3 separate regions of the Homo sapiens genome follow, and regions 2 and 3 are each linked to region 1. Evidence: promoter capture Hi-C in 16 types of primary human blood cells and fetal thymus (Javierre and others, 2016). All regions are on one chromosome and are shown on one strand. Each heading gives the region's core, a stretch centred on a gene start or on the middle of the fragment in contact. The rest is flanking DNA. Distances are from core to core; before and after follow the strand shown.

What was found. The method cuts DNA at HindIII sites, captures the fragments that hold promoters and counts their contacts. A CHiCAGO score of 5 or more calls a contact.
Region 2: a fragment that was not itself captured here is called in contact with the fragment with the promoter of COL17A1 in region 1 in 3 of 17 cell types (total CD8 T cells, M1 macrophages and naive CD8 T cells); the score reaches 8.6 in total CD8 T cells.
Region 3: a fragment that was not itself captured here is called in contact with the fragment with the promoter of COL17A1 in region 1 in 1 of 17 cell types (naive CD8 T cells); the score reaches 5.1 in naive CD8 T cells.

The regions. Positions count from the first base shown.
Region 1 is chr10:104,083,345-104,088,489 of GRCh38, reverse strand. It overlaps COL17A1 (collagen type XVII alpha 1 chain), which reads left to right and starts at 2,610. Exons shown (of 56, transcript NM_000494.4): 1 at 2,610-2,767. The HindIII fragment of the contact is 1,426 bases long and covers 2,442-3,867 here.
Region 2 is chr10:103,789,604-103,794,748 of GRCh38, reverse strand. The region is part of intron 2 of SH3PXD2A (SH3 and PX domains 2A); the gene reads left to right. Among named protein-coding and RNA genes, the nearest start is that of SH3PXD2A-AS1, 45 kb to the right of the region's middle. RefSeq lists an enhancer at 3,962-4,962. The HindIII fragment of the contact is 190 bases long and covers 2,117-2,306 here.
Region 3 is chr10:103,820,966-103,826,110 of GRCh38, reverse strand. The region is part of intron 1 of SH3PXD2A (SH3 and PX domains 2A); the gene reads left to right. Among named protein-coding and RNA genes, the nearest start is that of SH3PXD2A, 32 kb to the left of the region's middle. The HindIII fragment of the contact is 2,320 bases long and covers 1,153-3,472 here.

The DNA of each region.
Region 1 (5,145 bases), core at 1,361-3,860:
CTCCCTTGCCAGCCTCTCGCCCGCTGCCTGCCTCCCTTCACTTGATGCTTTTGAGCAAATTGGCCTCATCACTCTTCCCCCAACTCACCGTGCAGCTTCCACCTGAGAGCCTTCTCAGAGACTCTTGCCCCATCTAGATAGTAGAACACTCTCCACCCTGCCCTTCACCTGTGTGATCTCTTTTCAACCTTCATGTATCACTTATATAGCAGGACTTTTCCTAACACCCCTCTCCAAGATTATGTCTCTTCTTACGCTCTCACAGTAGCCAGTACTCTTTCTTTCTGATCTTGCTCTGTCACCCAGGCTAGAGTGCACTGGCGCCATTATAGCTTACTGTAACCTTGAACTGCTAGGCTCATGCAATCCTCCTTTCTCAACCACCCGAGTAACTGGGACTGCAGGTACATGCCATCATACTCAGCTATTTTTTTTTTTTTAGTAGAGACAAGGTCTTGCTATGCTGCCCAGGCTTGTCTTGAACTCCTGGCCTCAAGTCAGTATGCTTTCTTTATAATAGTTATCATATTCTTGCAGTTGCTCTTATAATATATATATATATATAATCTGCAATTATATATTGTACGTAACTGTTATAGGCTGAATAATGTCCCTCCAAAATTCATATGTGAAGCCCTAGCCATTAGTACCTCAGTGAATTTATTTGAAGATAGGGTCTTTAAAGAAGTAGTTAAATTTAAGTAAAAAAGGAGCCCATCAGGGTGGACTCTAATTCAATCTGACTGTGTCCTTTAAGAAGAGGAGATGAGGACACACAGAGAGAGACATCAGGGATGTGCATGCACAGAGAAAGGCCATGTGAGGATACTGCAAGAAGGCGGCCATCTGCAAGCCAAGGAGAGGGGGGTCTCAGGAGAAATCAAACCTCCTGACACATTGATCTTGAACTTCTGGCCCACAGAACTGTGAAAAAATAAATTTGTGTTGTTTAAGCCACCCAGTCCGTCGTATTTTGTTATGGGAACCCTCACCGACTAATACATTATGTAAGGCCTGTCTTCCTCCATTAGACTGTGAACTCCATAAGCAGAGGGACTATGTTCATATTTCACCACCAAACTCTTAGCACATAGTTTAATGTCTGGCTCCAAGCAGGAGCCAATATATTTTTGTTTAATTCTTGAATTCATGAATAAAGAAATAAATGATGCAGGGGCATGTCTATTTTATGCTGAAAGCTCTGTGTGTTCTGGGTTCTTCAGTGTTCTTCTACTATGAAACTGACGGAAGACATATTGAGTATTTATTTGGGGAAGGCAAGAACATCCTACAAAGCAAGTGTCAAATTCTGCATAATTGAAAGGGTTCTGAAATGCACGACTCCAGTGTGGAATATGGGCAGCTTAGGAGCAAGAGCCCCACAGCTGTTGTTGTGGTCTGCTACCCTTCCATGGGATGCAGTGCCCACAATAGCAAGGTGCAGTTGCACATCGGTGCTATGCTGTAAGGGCCCCACTGCTCCCCTCCAGTATCTTAGGATAATGCCTCAGAACTGGGAATCCCAGTGTGATGCTGGGTCCCAGGAATGTGCTATGGCCTCAAAGGACTGCCTGAGTGAGTTCCAGGTTCAGACTTCCCATTTTACCAACACCAAGTGTCTCAAGCTAGTCTTTAGGCCCCCTGGGAAGCCAGATGCTATCCAGGTATTCATAAGAATTATCCTGATTGATGCAAGTTGACCCTCTAGGGAAATCTAAAGGTCCCCAGGATGTACTTGGAGTTGCAGGACATCTGGGAGCCCACACATGTCTTTAGGTGTATGGAGACTATGCGGTCACCTGATTTGAAGGACAAGAAGGTCCTTATCCCTTCCCAACAGCACCTCTCTCCATTATTAGGTGGCTAAATGCCTAAAATTCCATCACTAACATGTCACTCTTTTAGGTCAGCATCACTATATCTGGTTGCCTCTTTTGTAAAACGAACCCCTACCCCACCAATTGCTCAGTACATTCAGTCATTAGCATATTATGAATTAGTTCACCAACTATTTTCTCCAGATGGGCTTGACCTGGCTTGAGTCACAAGAGGGGAAAGAGGACAAAGACATCTATAGGGGAAACAAGACAAAGGACACAGGACACAGGAACAGAGGACGAAGACATCTATAGGGGAAACAGATCTTGAATATAAATCCTGCCAACTTCAGTTTTTCTAGGGCTCAGGCAGTATGACCACAGGCCATCCATGTGCCTAGACCATGCTCATCCATGAGCCCATCCACGTGCCTAGACTCATGAATCATGCAGTGGGATTCCAGTACCCATGGCACTGAGGAAGGGTACTGCCACAAAGTTGTGGCAGTTCTCCAGCTGTAGAAGGTAGGCAATAAAAAAGCATTTCCTTTATGCTGGTCCTTTGTTTCCTTTTCCCCATGGGCCTTATAAATAGTTAATCTACCTAAGCTGGAAGGAGAAGCTTTCTGCCTCCAGTAAAGTTTGATTCCTGGAGGCAGATTTTTTTTTTAAATCCAGCAAGTGTCAGATAATTGGAAGGGTGGAGTAACGCTGTAAACCATGACACACCTTTGTCAGGACATGTTTGGAAGCAAAGAGTTGAAAGAAACAAGGTGGAGAGAAAGAAAAGTGAACATTTTTGAAAGATCACTCAGCTTTAACACACCTTGGCTGGGTCTGGATAAAAAAAAAGTGAGCACTGCAAATTTCTAGAAGAAAACATCAGGAGAAGAAAGAGAGAGGGGGATTTATTCAAAGTTGTTTCCAATTCCTTCAAAACCTCAAACCAGGTAAGTAAACAGGAAGACTGACCTTTCTCCTTTTCTCTGAGACTTTGATTTAAGGTTTGCCATTTAGAAATTAAATGTTTATTGGAGAAAAGAAGATGAAGTTCTGTAGTTTCTAGCATTCTGGTTAAAGTGATCAATTGGTTATAAAAGATGACTTTGGTGTATGCATTCTGCTTAGGGTAGGTCTTTCAAAGGAAATAAGTGGGGAAAAGGAGAAGGCTGAAGGCTGGTTAAAATATAGCGGGCTTTAGAGGCAAGACCTTTCTGCATTGTTTTCAGCATTGTAAAATGACTTGTGTTGTTTTATTTAGAATATGATACGGGCTTATAATTCCTTCTCTCCCAATCTCAGTTTCCTCTCTCGCTATCTTGCTCTCCTCTTCCCTCTGTCTCTCTCTCCACTGGACGAAGAGAACAACTCAGGGGTGAAGTTAAAGTATAGGTAAGGGGGCCTTCTAGAAACAGTCCCTGTGCTGACTGGGCCTCTCTGATTAAGCCATACATGGTAAACATTGCTGTTTACCATGCTGTAAAATTACCTCTAATCTAAAGAAAAGTAGGATCTTTGAAATGATCTGATTAATTCAGAAATTTTGCAGGATCAAACTTAGAGGAATAAAAAAAGGAAGAAAATTGTTTCCCGTATATATACTCTTACGAGTCAACTTGGGTTTCCTCCTGCCAAAAAAATTCACTTTGAGATGAGAATTACCAGTTTAGATACCTAAGTGGATGACGTTAACTGGTAACTGACAAATTATCACTTTACTTTTTGAAGTGGAGGCAAAACCTCTGGCACATTCCTTCTTTTGAGAAGTAGTTAATCAGTAGTCTAATAGTGGACTTGTAAAACGTAGCAAGATTTTTAAAAGGTATTTATTTGAAAAGCAGAATAGTTTCTTCTTACCTCCATATGTTCTCTCTTAGAGCTAAGGCACAGATCTGTCAGAACTAACCTAAGACAGATGTCTATCCCCACACAGACTCACTCCAGAGATTCAGAGGTGTCCTGCTTTACTCTTAGGCCCTGCAAAACACCCACATGAGTCTGATCAGAGTTTACACAGGAACAATTAAAGTGAACAGCTCTGCTTCAAGCTTGCATAGAAACTTACCAGCCTGGGTAACATGGCAAAACCCTGACTCTACAAAAAATACAAAATTAGCCAAGCATAGTGGTGTGCGTAGTGGTGCACACTCATATTATACTAACCCCATCTCTACTAAAAATACAAAAATACAAAAATTAGCTGGGTGTGGCGGTGCATGCCTGTAACCCCAGCTACTTGTGAGGCTGAGGCAGGAGAATTGCTTGAACCCAGGAGGCAGAGGTTGCAGTGGGCCAAGGTTGTGCCACTGCACTCCCACCTGGGCAACACAGCAAGACTCCGTCTCAAAAAAAAAAAAAAATAGGAAAAAAACTCCTTAGATTGGTGAAACTGACCTGACCTAAGAACTAACCACCTTCTCAGATTATGAAAAACAAAAAGAAGTCTGTGTTTACATTGTTTGTTTCATTTGCCATTATTAACAGTGGCAGGACACAACTGTAAACAAACCAGCATAATCACAAAGCTGGTGCCCTATCCCACCTGCTCCCAGTCATGAAAATCCAGGATACCAAATGTAGCAAGCAGCAAACCCATCTCTGGGGTGTTACAGAGACAAAGCCTCCAAGATATTCAATTCCAGGGCATTGGCTTTCCTGGCATCAAACTGCTGGGCCCTTCTGTGTTATCAGGTCAATAGCCAGTGGATGGTTTTCTAATACTTTGGCAATTTTGTTGTTGTTTTGTTTTAAAATTTAAAGTGTATAGAGAATGGAGTAATAGAAGCTATAAAAATACTTGCAATTCATTAGCAGAGTATAGGAACATTTGTTCCTAAAACAAAAAATAAAGAGAAAAATACTTAGCTTCTTCATTCTCTTTGTTGTATCAAGAACAAAGTGTTTCATGTGTCATTAGAATAAGATAATGTGATGGTTTAAACCCAAATGTGATGGTAAACAGTTAACGTGATGGTTCACTGTCACTAACAGTGGTTTGTCCTTGTGTGTGTGTGTATGTTAGACAGCATCGGCTGAATAGTTTTAGGTAGACGTGACATCATTTAAATAAAGGGGAAAGGAAAAAACTCATAAAAGTAGAAAAATGATTTAAAATTGTGTCTTCTTGCCTAGAAAAGTGACATGGGATCATTTTTACACCTTCACAAAAACATTAGCTATAAAATAGCCACAAAGCAACCCTTTAGAACTATGGATGGAAATTAGTATAATTTTGGAATTGAGAGCTTGAATGATCTGCTCATCCTTAGTTCTAGTGAAGTGGCCCAAATATCTGAGAAGTTAAAAATTATGTTATTTGACAGTGCTT
Region 2 (5,145 bases), core at 962-3,461, 290 kb after region 1:
ATAACTCACCACTCAGCCCTATCTGACCAGGAAAAGGACCTGTCCCAGGGAAAGCTGACCAGGACAGGGCCTAACGTCGAGGCCCATTTGGTGATTAAGGGCCTGGGTTGCTTGGAGGTGCAGTTGAGGTGGGAGGAGGGGCGGCAGATGCCCTTTTCAGTTGCTTTCTCACGGGTGGCTGGACCACGTTTCCAGCCTTTGTCTATTTCCTTGCACAGCTCCTTCCTGGTCCCACTGAGGAGGGGCCGGAAGACTCTCTGAAGCCCTGGCTCCATGGACGGTTGTTTCACAACCTGACCTACAAAGCGCTGGGCTACAGTAATTGCTCTGCAAACACCGACTCCACCATGCTGCTATTGCTTTAGTCTGAACTCTGGCCAGCGAGTGCACAGGGTCAATATTTGATCAGAACTGGGAGAGGCCCTTTATTTTCCCCTGCACCGCTTGGAAGATAGAGTTAAGAGGGTTGTTCAGGTTTGCTCATTGGCTCTGAAGGACTTAACCTATTTTGACAAGCTTTTCTCTCTATTCCTTATTCATCTCTCCAGACTCTCCACCCATGCACCCCACCCTGGGGTCACACTCACTTTCCAGCTCCCCAACAGCCCACCTCATGATGGGTGGAAAAATTATAATTCCTGAATCACTAACAACCAGCCTTGGAATGAATGTGTATATGGGTGTGGGTGTGTACTGATGTCACTTACGGAGCTTTATGGGATCATTGCATTTTTAGAGTTAGAGGAGTTCTTATTCCAAGTGCCTCACTTTGCAGGTAACAAACTGTGTTAATTTTTCTATTCATTAAATTTATATAAGCTTTCATTTGGTTTAATATCCAAAGCAGGCCTCAGCTGAGATCAACCTGGGGTGATCCCAGTGTGTGCCAAGAACCAACCTGAAAGCAGAAAAGAGGAGGAAATGTCTCTTCCGCAGGCACTCTGCCTTTTAATCATTGAGGGAATTTGTTCGAGATTACTGACCCTAGACTAAAGCGATGAGGCCACAGCCTGGGGAGGTAACCTGCTAAGTTCTAAGAATGATCTTGTACCAAGGATTGCAGAGAGCTCCAGCACACCTGGTGTGGCAGTGCCAGCTCCAGAATGTGCTGAGCATGGGTCATTGTGAATGCTCACATGCCTTAGACAGAGGAGAACATCAGCCTTGACTGAGGTCATTCACTGGTCCCAGGCAGGCACAGACAGCCTCATGTTGTTTGCAATGGCAAAAATGGGAAACAGCCTAAAAGACCATCCATACAGAGTTGCTAAGTCAACTGTGATATTCTCACAGCACTTAGTACAGCAGTCAAAGCAAATGAGACTGATCCATGGGTGGATCTCCAAGAAACATTCTGAACAAACAATGCAAGTTTCAAAACAGTACTTATAGTATGATAATAATTATATAAAAAAAAACCCAAGAACAAGATTTATATTTTGCAGGTACATATCCAGCATATGAATGTAAATGTTTTTTAATCTAGAAGGCTGTACTCCAGATTGGTATCCGACTCATCTCTAGATGGGGGTTAGGGATATCAGTAGGAGGAAGGGCTTGATAAAGGGGGAACCTTATCTTAATGTTTTACTCTTTTAGAAAAGGAGAATGCATTCATATATTATTTGCAACATTAATATTGAATAGTTAAAGAGTCACCTATTGGGGGAGCTAGGGTTGGTGGGAAGTCAAAAATAAAATATGTCTTTCCTGGTCATTATGGTATAATGGGACAGAAAGCACAGGTGAAAAAAGTAAACATAAGAACATGTCTAACAAGGAGGACATGAAACTCATTATAAAAATCACATTACCTCATATTTCCTGGACCATCATTCTAGATCATTCCTGTGGAATGTAAACTGGTTAGATCCCATTACAACCAACCCCAGGGACCTGTCCAAATTATCTTGTCCAACTGGAATCTTGTATTCAGATATTACTCAAAATCTGCAAACTACATATTGAGGCAGGAAGCAGTTGGGTGGGGGTTCTTGTGTCATGACGAAACTGTACTCAGAGTTGTGTGTTGCTGGGGCACAGTGGCTAAGGGCATGTGCTCCAGGGCCAGGGCACTTGGGTTTCAAGACCAGCCCCAGCGCTTACTGTCTAAGCTTTGATGAGTGATTTAACCTCTCTGTGCTTGATTTCTCATCTGTATAATGGGTGTATAGTAATAACTGCCTCACTGGGTAACAGGAAAAATAAAATGACACAGTCCATATAAAGAAAGCCCTTAGGATAGGACTGGCACAGAGACGCCAGACAGGTAAGCTGAAATGTCACCAATTAGGCCCTCAGAAGCTTAAAACTCCAAAAAGCCAGAGAGCCCCACTCCATCTAGAGACAGAAGTTTCTTCCTGTGCCCCGTTAATGTAGACATCACTTTCACCAAATAGCTCGGCCTGCCTCCAGGGAAGAGAGGCAGAAGGCAGTGTTAAAGGTTTTCTAGATAAATGATTTTCACCTTCAAAGTTTAACTACAAACCTATTTCCCTTCCAACAATGCTGTTAGGAAAACATTGTTTTTTAAAAAGTAATTATTAGTTGACAGCTTTTCCTTGCTCCTGGAAAGAGGCATCTTTGATTCCTGAAGGAACACATAGGGGTTCCAGGGGAGCCTTGTGGGGCTTCCATCGGCTCTTGGGGATTCCCTGGCTGGCTCCGCTCCACCTGGGAGCTGGCTGGGCTCCAGCGCCCCTTTCAACTTGTGCCTGTGGCCTGAGTATGAACTCCAGCTTCCTCCTGCCTCTCCTGAGTTCCCCTTTGGCAGATCCTGTTAGCAGGTGAGGGAGTTGTGGAATATTGGGAGAGGAAGACCAGGGTGAACTGGCACCTCTGGGCAGGCTCAGGATGGGAAAGCCAGTTACCATTGAGTTTGAATCCTGGGGTTACCTGGGTCCGGCTGGAGGGTGTTGGGAAAAGTTTGGGTTGATCTTTTTTCCCCTTTAAGCAGATGGAGTTTGCAACTTCTCGTGCAGTTTCCCAACCTTGTGGGTTTAGGAAGACCCCTGTGCTTGTGGGGGCCTCTCAGGTCCAGAGCAACTCGGGACCTGGTTCCAAGCAGATGGAGAGAGGTACGGAAGGAAGGTGGTGGCAGCGGGGATAGAGCATCTAGGAGAGGTCTCTGCACATCTATGCATAAAGGGAAATAAGACCCAGAGGGCTGAGCTCAGGCCCTGAGAATCACCGCCTCGGGGCCTGCCCTCAGGAGAACTCTCCACCCAGCCAGAGCCTGTGGACATCAAGAGAGCTGGGGAACTTGTGTGACACTGAAGCCGCTGGGAGTTGTCAGATATGCACCGTGCTGTGGGTCTGTGTGGGAAATCACACCTTTCCTATACAGTTGAGGACTCGCTCTGTGAGCCTCATTTTGGATGGTTGTGTGCATTTGATCCAGGCCCAGGGTATTCACGGTGTTCACAGGGTGTTTGGCCAAATCCTATTCCTAATGGACTCAAGGCCCTGTCAGATCAGACCCTCATTTGTGCAGTAGAAAATCAAAAGCCATCTCCGCCCTTTGCTGCACCCCCAGCCTCTCCATGGGGTCAATGTGGGATTTTCATACAGCGGGGGAAGCTCTTTTGTAAACTGGGGAAAATTGTAAGAAGCTGGAATGTCCTCTGGGTGTCAGTCCTTGGCACTGTTCATTGGCTCTAAATTTCTGGGTGACGTCTTGTGAGTGTGAGTGCTAGGAGCCTTGGGGGCATCACTGCTCCCCCAGTGACTGTCCAGCAGGGCTGAGAATGTCCCTTTCAGGGAGAGAAATCAGCTGTGTGCAAATAGCACAATATGGGAGGTACATGTTTGTCAACTGATGTTAACGATGTCCGCTGGGAAATCAGTGGTGGAATTATAAGTTTTCCAACCAGGAAGCCCTTAGAGATATCTAGCAGGATGACAAGTATCTGGCACTCATGTTGCTATCTCCCACTCATGCCTACAGCAGACATCACTAATTGATCATGGCATTCTCCTGTCCTGTACCCATGGCAGGCATTGTTAATTGATTACGAGCCCAGACATGGTCTCAGAGTCTTTCTAAAAAACAAAACCGAGTATCTTTAGGAAGTCACTACCTATCAGTTGGCAATGGCACCTTGAGATGAAACTAACTGGCCGCCCTCTGATCTTGCCCATTTCCCTTATTTGACAGACAAGGAAATGAGGTCCCAAGCAGGGAGTGATTTGTCCAAGATCACAGCAAGTGACAGCAGGACTAGAACTCTGGTACTCTCGCTTCTAGCTCACTCCAATCTGAGTTCCTAGCCTTCCACTCAGAAGTCCTCTTTCTGGGCCGGGCGCGGTGGCTCACACCTGTAATCCCAGCATTTTGGGAGGCCGAGGCGGGTGGATCACGAGGTCAGGAGATCGAGACCATCCTGGCTAACACGTGAAACCCCGTCTCTACTAAAAATACAAAAAAATTAGCCAGGGGTGATGGCGGGCGCCTGTATTCCCAGCTACCCGGGAGGCTGAGGCAGGAGAATGGCTTGAACCCGGGAGGCGGAGCTTGCAGTGAGCCGAGATCGCACCACTGCTCTCCAGCCTGGGCGACACAGCGAGACTCCATCTCAAAAAAAAAAAAAGAAAGTCCTCTTTCTGTTTTTGGCTGATGAGGGCAGGAAGCTTCTGTTGCCTCACTGAGAGTGTGCCTGGAGGGAGGGGTGGGGAACCATTCACTCTGCCTAGAGAGAAGCTGCCGTTGCAAAGAGCTGAAGACTTCTCTCTAGATCCCAGAAAGGTCGCTGGTGGCTCCCTCCCAGGCTCAGCTGCTTCCTGGAGCTCAGCCCACATCTCCTGCACACCGTCACCTGCCTCTCTCATTGTTGAATAATAAACCCCAGCTTTGCCAGGGGCAGTGTCAGAGTCAGCTCACACCACCTTCATGACTGTTCAGAGCTGCACACCTTGTTTTCCTGGTGTGCAGTGTCATGTCAGGGTGTGTTTGGGTGTCACGTCAGGGAGGCGTTGGAATGCAGTTGCAGCCTCTGCCACCTCCTTCCTCCTCTGCTCCTAGGCCCAAAGGTCCAACTTAGAAAATTCAGCTCTGCCCCTACTGGGCCTTCATCTTACCCCTCTTTGGATAACCAACAGGAAAGTTGTCTGGAAAGTGTGTTGGGTGACAGTGCCCCCCTCCAAACT
Region 3 (5,145 bases), core at 1,063-3,562, 260 kb after region 1:
ATACTTTCATATTGGGAGCTCCTCTTAGGTTTGAAAAATAAAATAATTGGCCGTGCACGGTGGCTCACGCCTGTAATCCCAGCACTTTGGGAGGCCGAGGTGGGCCGATCACGAGGTCAGGAGATTGAGACCATCCTGGCTAACATGGTGAAACCCTATCTCTACTAAAAATACAAAAAATTAGCCGGGCGTGGTGGCGGGAGCCTGTAGTCCCAGCTACTCAGGAGGCTGAGGCAGGAGAATGGCGAGAACCCGGGAGGTGGAGCTTGCGGTGAGCTGAGATTGCGCCACTGCACCCCAGCCTGGGTGACAGAGCGAGACTCCGTCTCAAAAAAAAAAAAAAAAAAATTTGTTACGGATGCTGTGTTTTACCCAGGAGCACCCTGTTCTCAGCTTCATACAGAACTAAGCCAAGTGTGTCAGTGCTGTCCGGAAGGAGAGTCTCTAGGGGCATGCCACAGGACTCTATGCTCTGTCTCTGACCTGGAATGTTGGTCAGTGACTTGGATGATATTTTGATGGCATCCTGTTCACATTTACAGGTGACCAGGGAGGAAGGAGAGAGAGTGCTTAGAACTGAACAGATGTAAATGTAATGAGTTTCGAATGAACAATTCAAAGAGGAAATTAAGAAAACAATTCCATTTTTATTAGCATCAAAAAGAATAAAACACCCACCTCTTGCAAAATTGAAACTGTATCAATTAAATAATAACTCCCCTTTCCCTCCTCCCTGCAACGCCTGTTAACAGCCATTATACCTTGAGTAAATTCTCAACAAATGATACTGTCCTAGGAAAAGAAAATGTAATGGGCGCTGATGAAATCAGCGGCCCAAGTGTAGGCAGCAGGAGGTTTGGTTTTCATGGAAGCAGGTGTGTGAGGTGTCAGGGTTGGGGTTGTTTGGGAGCCAGCAGAAGCCAGCAGTATAAATGCCTCTCCAAATCCTAGGGATGCATTCACAGAATTCACATTTCTTGGAATGCATTTGTAGAGGTTTAGGATTTAGAAAGTTTAGAGAGAGGCTGGGCACAATGGCTCAGCACTTTGGGAGGCCTAAGCCGGTGGATTACTTGAGCCCAGGAGTTCAAGACCAGCCAGGATAACTTGGCGAAACCCTATCTCTACAAAAATACAAAAATTAGCCAAGCTTGGTGGTGCACTTCTGTAACTCCAGCTACTCAGGGGGCTGAGGCACGAGAATTGCTTGAATCCGGGAGGTGGAGGTTGCAGTGAGCAGAAATCGTGCCACTGCACTCCAGCCAGGGTGATGGAGTGAGACTGTATCTCAAAAAATAGAGAGATGACATGGCAAGAGTTGCTTCCATTCTGCCCTCTCTGCCTGTCTACACCTGGTCTACACAGGTGAAGGTTGGATTCAGGTCCTGGTGTACATTTTATGAGAGCAGGGTAGGAGGGCAGCCTGGATGGTGGAGACACAGGACTGGTCACCAGAAGCCACAGGAAGTAGGGCTGGTTATCCTCAAGCCGAGGGGATGCCGGGAGAGGGGCTATGTGAAATGTCCTCTTTCAGGAGAGGATTTTGATATGTTCTCTGTGGCCCCAGAGGCAGAACTAGTGGGTATGGGCGGGCATTAGCAGGAAGTAGATTCAGATCAGGATAAGGAAAATGTTCTCAGAGGCTCGGTGGATGCTGTGTGGCTTCCCCTCCGGGTTGACCCAGCCTCTGTGCTGGAAGCTGGACTTGCCTGGGCAAGGGCTGAGTTCGGGACTGCTTCAGCATTCCTCCAAATAAACCTCCCCTGGCCACAGAAAAGCCCAGAGAACAGAGAATATTAGAAGCTAAGGGAGAGCTTGCAGTTATTTCCCAACTCTGCCCTTCCTCATGCCTTCCCATTTTAAAGACGAGGAAATCAAAGCTCCAAGCCACCGAAAGAAACAAACTCCATGCCTGCCCACCCTCCCCTTGGGGCCACCTGGAGGTTTCTGCAGAAGGAGGGTGCTTGGTCTGAGCCAGTCAGTGGATGAGGGGTTTCCCAGGGGAGTGCCAGGTCAGGCACATTCCTCAGAGCTTCAAAATAGCCCCGCAAGCCAATACATTTCCTCCCAGGGGTTGGGGAGTGGCCGTCAGCTGGCAAGGGACAATATGAGGGACACATCTCAGGGGACACTCTCGAGTGAGGCATTAGGGTGTGGGTGCTGAGATGTCTCTTTTCATTGTTCTGCAGGAGTGAGTGCGGCCTTGACACGCTGACTGGCCTGGCATGGCTGTCCCAGCTGAAGCCTGTCCCCTGCCCGCTGCCCTTCTTTCCCTCATCTCAGCCATGTCTGCAGGCACCTCCCTGCCTCCCACTCCCTAGGCTCACCAAGCTCCCTCAGCTTTCCAAAGTCTGTGAGTTGTAGTGTGAGGCCACGCCATGAGGCAGGGACAAAACACAGGGTTTGGAATCAGTCCCACCGGGACTGGAATCCAAGCTCTACTGTTAATACATCCCAGCTGTGTGACCTTGGGCAAGTCACTGATCCTTTTGGACCCTCAGCATCTTCTTCTGTTAGATGGGCTTGTACCCATCCCAAGGATTTGTATATGGGTTACATGGGCTTAATGATGTATGGCTGTCTCCAGTGCAGAGCCTAGCACATGGAACTTGCTAGGGTGGCCTCCCTCTGTGCCTCAGTTGCCATGAAATGGTGGAGCCCAGTGATGAGGCCAGCCAGAATAATGCTCCCAACCCTGTAAGGGCAGTGGTTAAAGCCAGTCTCAATCAAGGTGGGTGTTAAGGGTCAACTCTGGCCTGAATCAGGAATGCCACCTTCTTACACAAAGCCAGCATTGCCTTCAAGGTGACTTCTGCAAAAGAGACGGATTTTTCTGCACGCTGCTTTTCTCATGGCATCCGTGGCACATCCTCTCTCCCTGTCAGCAAACCTAGGCTACCTAGATTTTGAGACAGTTGCAAAGTATTTATTCTGAGGATTCCCAGGACAACTTGATGGATCCTGCCAAAAACATCTTTGAACATATAACTTGACACACTTTTGTGAATTTATTCCCCAAGATAAATTCCTAGCAGGGGAATTGGTGGGTCAGTTTGCATTTCTCATTTTGATATATGTTGGCAAATGGCCCTCCTGAAAGAATTCAGCTCCCTCCCACGAAGTCTGAGACCTATCTATTTCCTCATAACTTCAGCACCTATCTGACCAAACGTGATTGTTTCTGTCAGCCAGATAGAAAAGAAATAACATCTTGTCGTTCTGATTTGGCTTTTTTCAGTTACACATGAGATGATGGAGTGTCTTAGCATGTATGGGTTAGCCATATGTATTTCTTCTTTGGTAAATGCTTATTTATATTCTTGGTCCATTTAAAAATTTTTTTGGGTGGTTCAGCTTATTACTTTGGGTTTAGAGGATTGTTCCTTGGAGAGAGGGGGTATTCTCTAAGGGGGCTTGGTGGTGGTATTCAGATCAGTTTCCTTTGAGGCTGTGAGTTAGTTAGAAGTAAGCTTCTTCACCCTCCCTGGGAAGAGGCTGCCCTGAGCTTGCTCCAGGCTTCCTGGGGTCCTCGTTAACAGGCATGAAAGTGCTGCTCCCCCCCCACCATGCCCTCATGGCTGAGTGCTGCATCAGGGCAGAGCTTGTGTGAGGCTGAATGAGAAGTTTGGTGTTAGATTTAGGGAATGGGGGGCCATGGCAGGATGCCAGGGAAGAACCTGTGTATGTGTGCAGCTGTGTGAGAGCTCCAGAATTTCTGCAGGGAACTTGGACAGCTAGGGGTTACATCTGCATAGGAAGCACCCTGTCTTTGCTTAGAGTGTGTATTCCAAATAACAAAAAATAGCAAGTTTAATAAAGTTGCTTTTGTGCACAGTATGTATAACATCCAGAAAAGGTCAATGGCCTATTACTCAAGAGAAATAATTACACAAATAAGTCAAATGAGAAGGATGAAATAAGGCCAGGCGCAGTGGCTCATGCCTGTAATCTCGGCACTTCGGGAGGCCGAGGCAGGCAGATCACCTAAGGTTAGGAGTTTGAGACCTGGTGAAACCCTGTCTTTACCAAAAATACAAAAATTAGCTGGGGATGGTGGTGCATGCCTGTAATCCCAGCTACTCAGGAGGCTGAGGCTGGAGAATTACTTGAACCCAGGAGGCAGAGGTTGCAGTGAGCCAAGATCGTGCCACTGCACTCCAGCCTGGGTGACAGAGCAAGACTTTGTCTCAAAAAAAAAAAAGAAAAAGAAGAAGGATGAAGTAAGAATAAAATAATAACAACAGGGCCAGGTGGAGTGGCTTATGCCTGTAATCCTAGCTCTTTGGGAGGCCGAGGCAAGAGGATCACTTGACTCCAGGAATTTGAGACCAGCCTGGGCAACAGGATGAAACCCCATCTCTACAAAAAATACAAAAAATTAACCCAGCATGGTGATGCGCCCCTGTAGTCCCAGCTACTGGTGGTGGGGGGCAGGGGAGCTGAGGCAGGAGGATGGCTTGAGCCCAGGAGGTCGAGGCTGCAGTGAGCAGAGATCATGCTATTGCACTCCAGCCTGGGTGACAGAGTAAGACCCTGCCTCAAATAATAATAACAAGAACAACAGATCTCCCACTTGTGTCTGGAGCTGGCTGATGGAGATTGTCAAGGTGGGGATTAAGCCTCCCTTGGCACTGCCACTGGTGTTAGAATTCCCAGGAAATCTAGGAAATAAAAAGAATGAACGCCAGGTGTGGTGGCTCACGCCTGTAATCGCAGCACTTTGGAAGGCTGAGGCAGACGGATCACTTGAGGTCTGGAGTTCGAGACTAGCCTGGCTGACATGGTGAAACCCTGTCTCTACTAAAAATACGAAAATTAGCTGGGTATGTAAAATTAGCTACTTGGGAGGCTGAGGCAGGAGAATCGCTTGAACCCAGGAGGTGGAGGTTGCAGTAAGCCGAGACCGCACCACTGCACTCCAGCCTGGGTGACAGAGCAAGACTGTCTCAAAAAAAAAAAAAAAAAAAAGAATGAACGACCATACATTAAATGTTTTCTGTGGGCCAGGCACGTGCTAAGTGCTTTGGATGCATTATCCCATTTAATCCTCACTGAAACCATCAGAGGCATACCCTCTTATTACCCTCATTGTCTAGGCGAGGAAATGCAGGGTCAGAGAAACTCGTTGATTTGTCCAAGATCTTA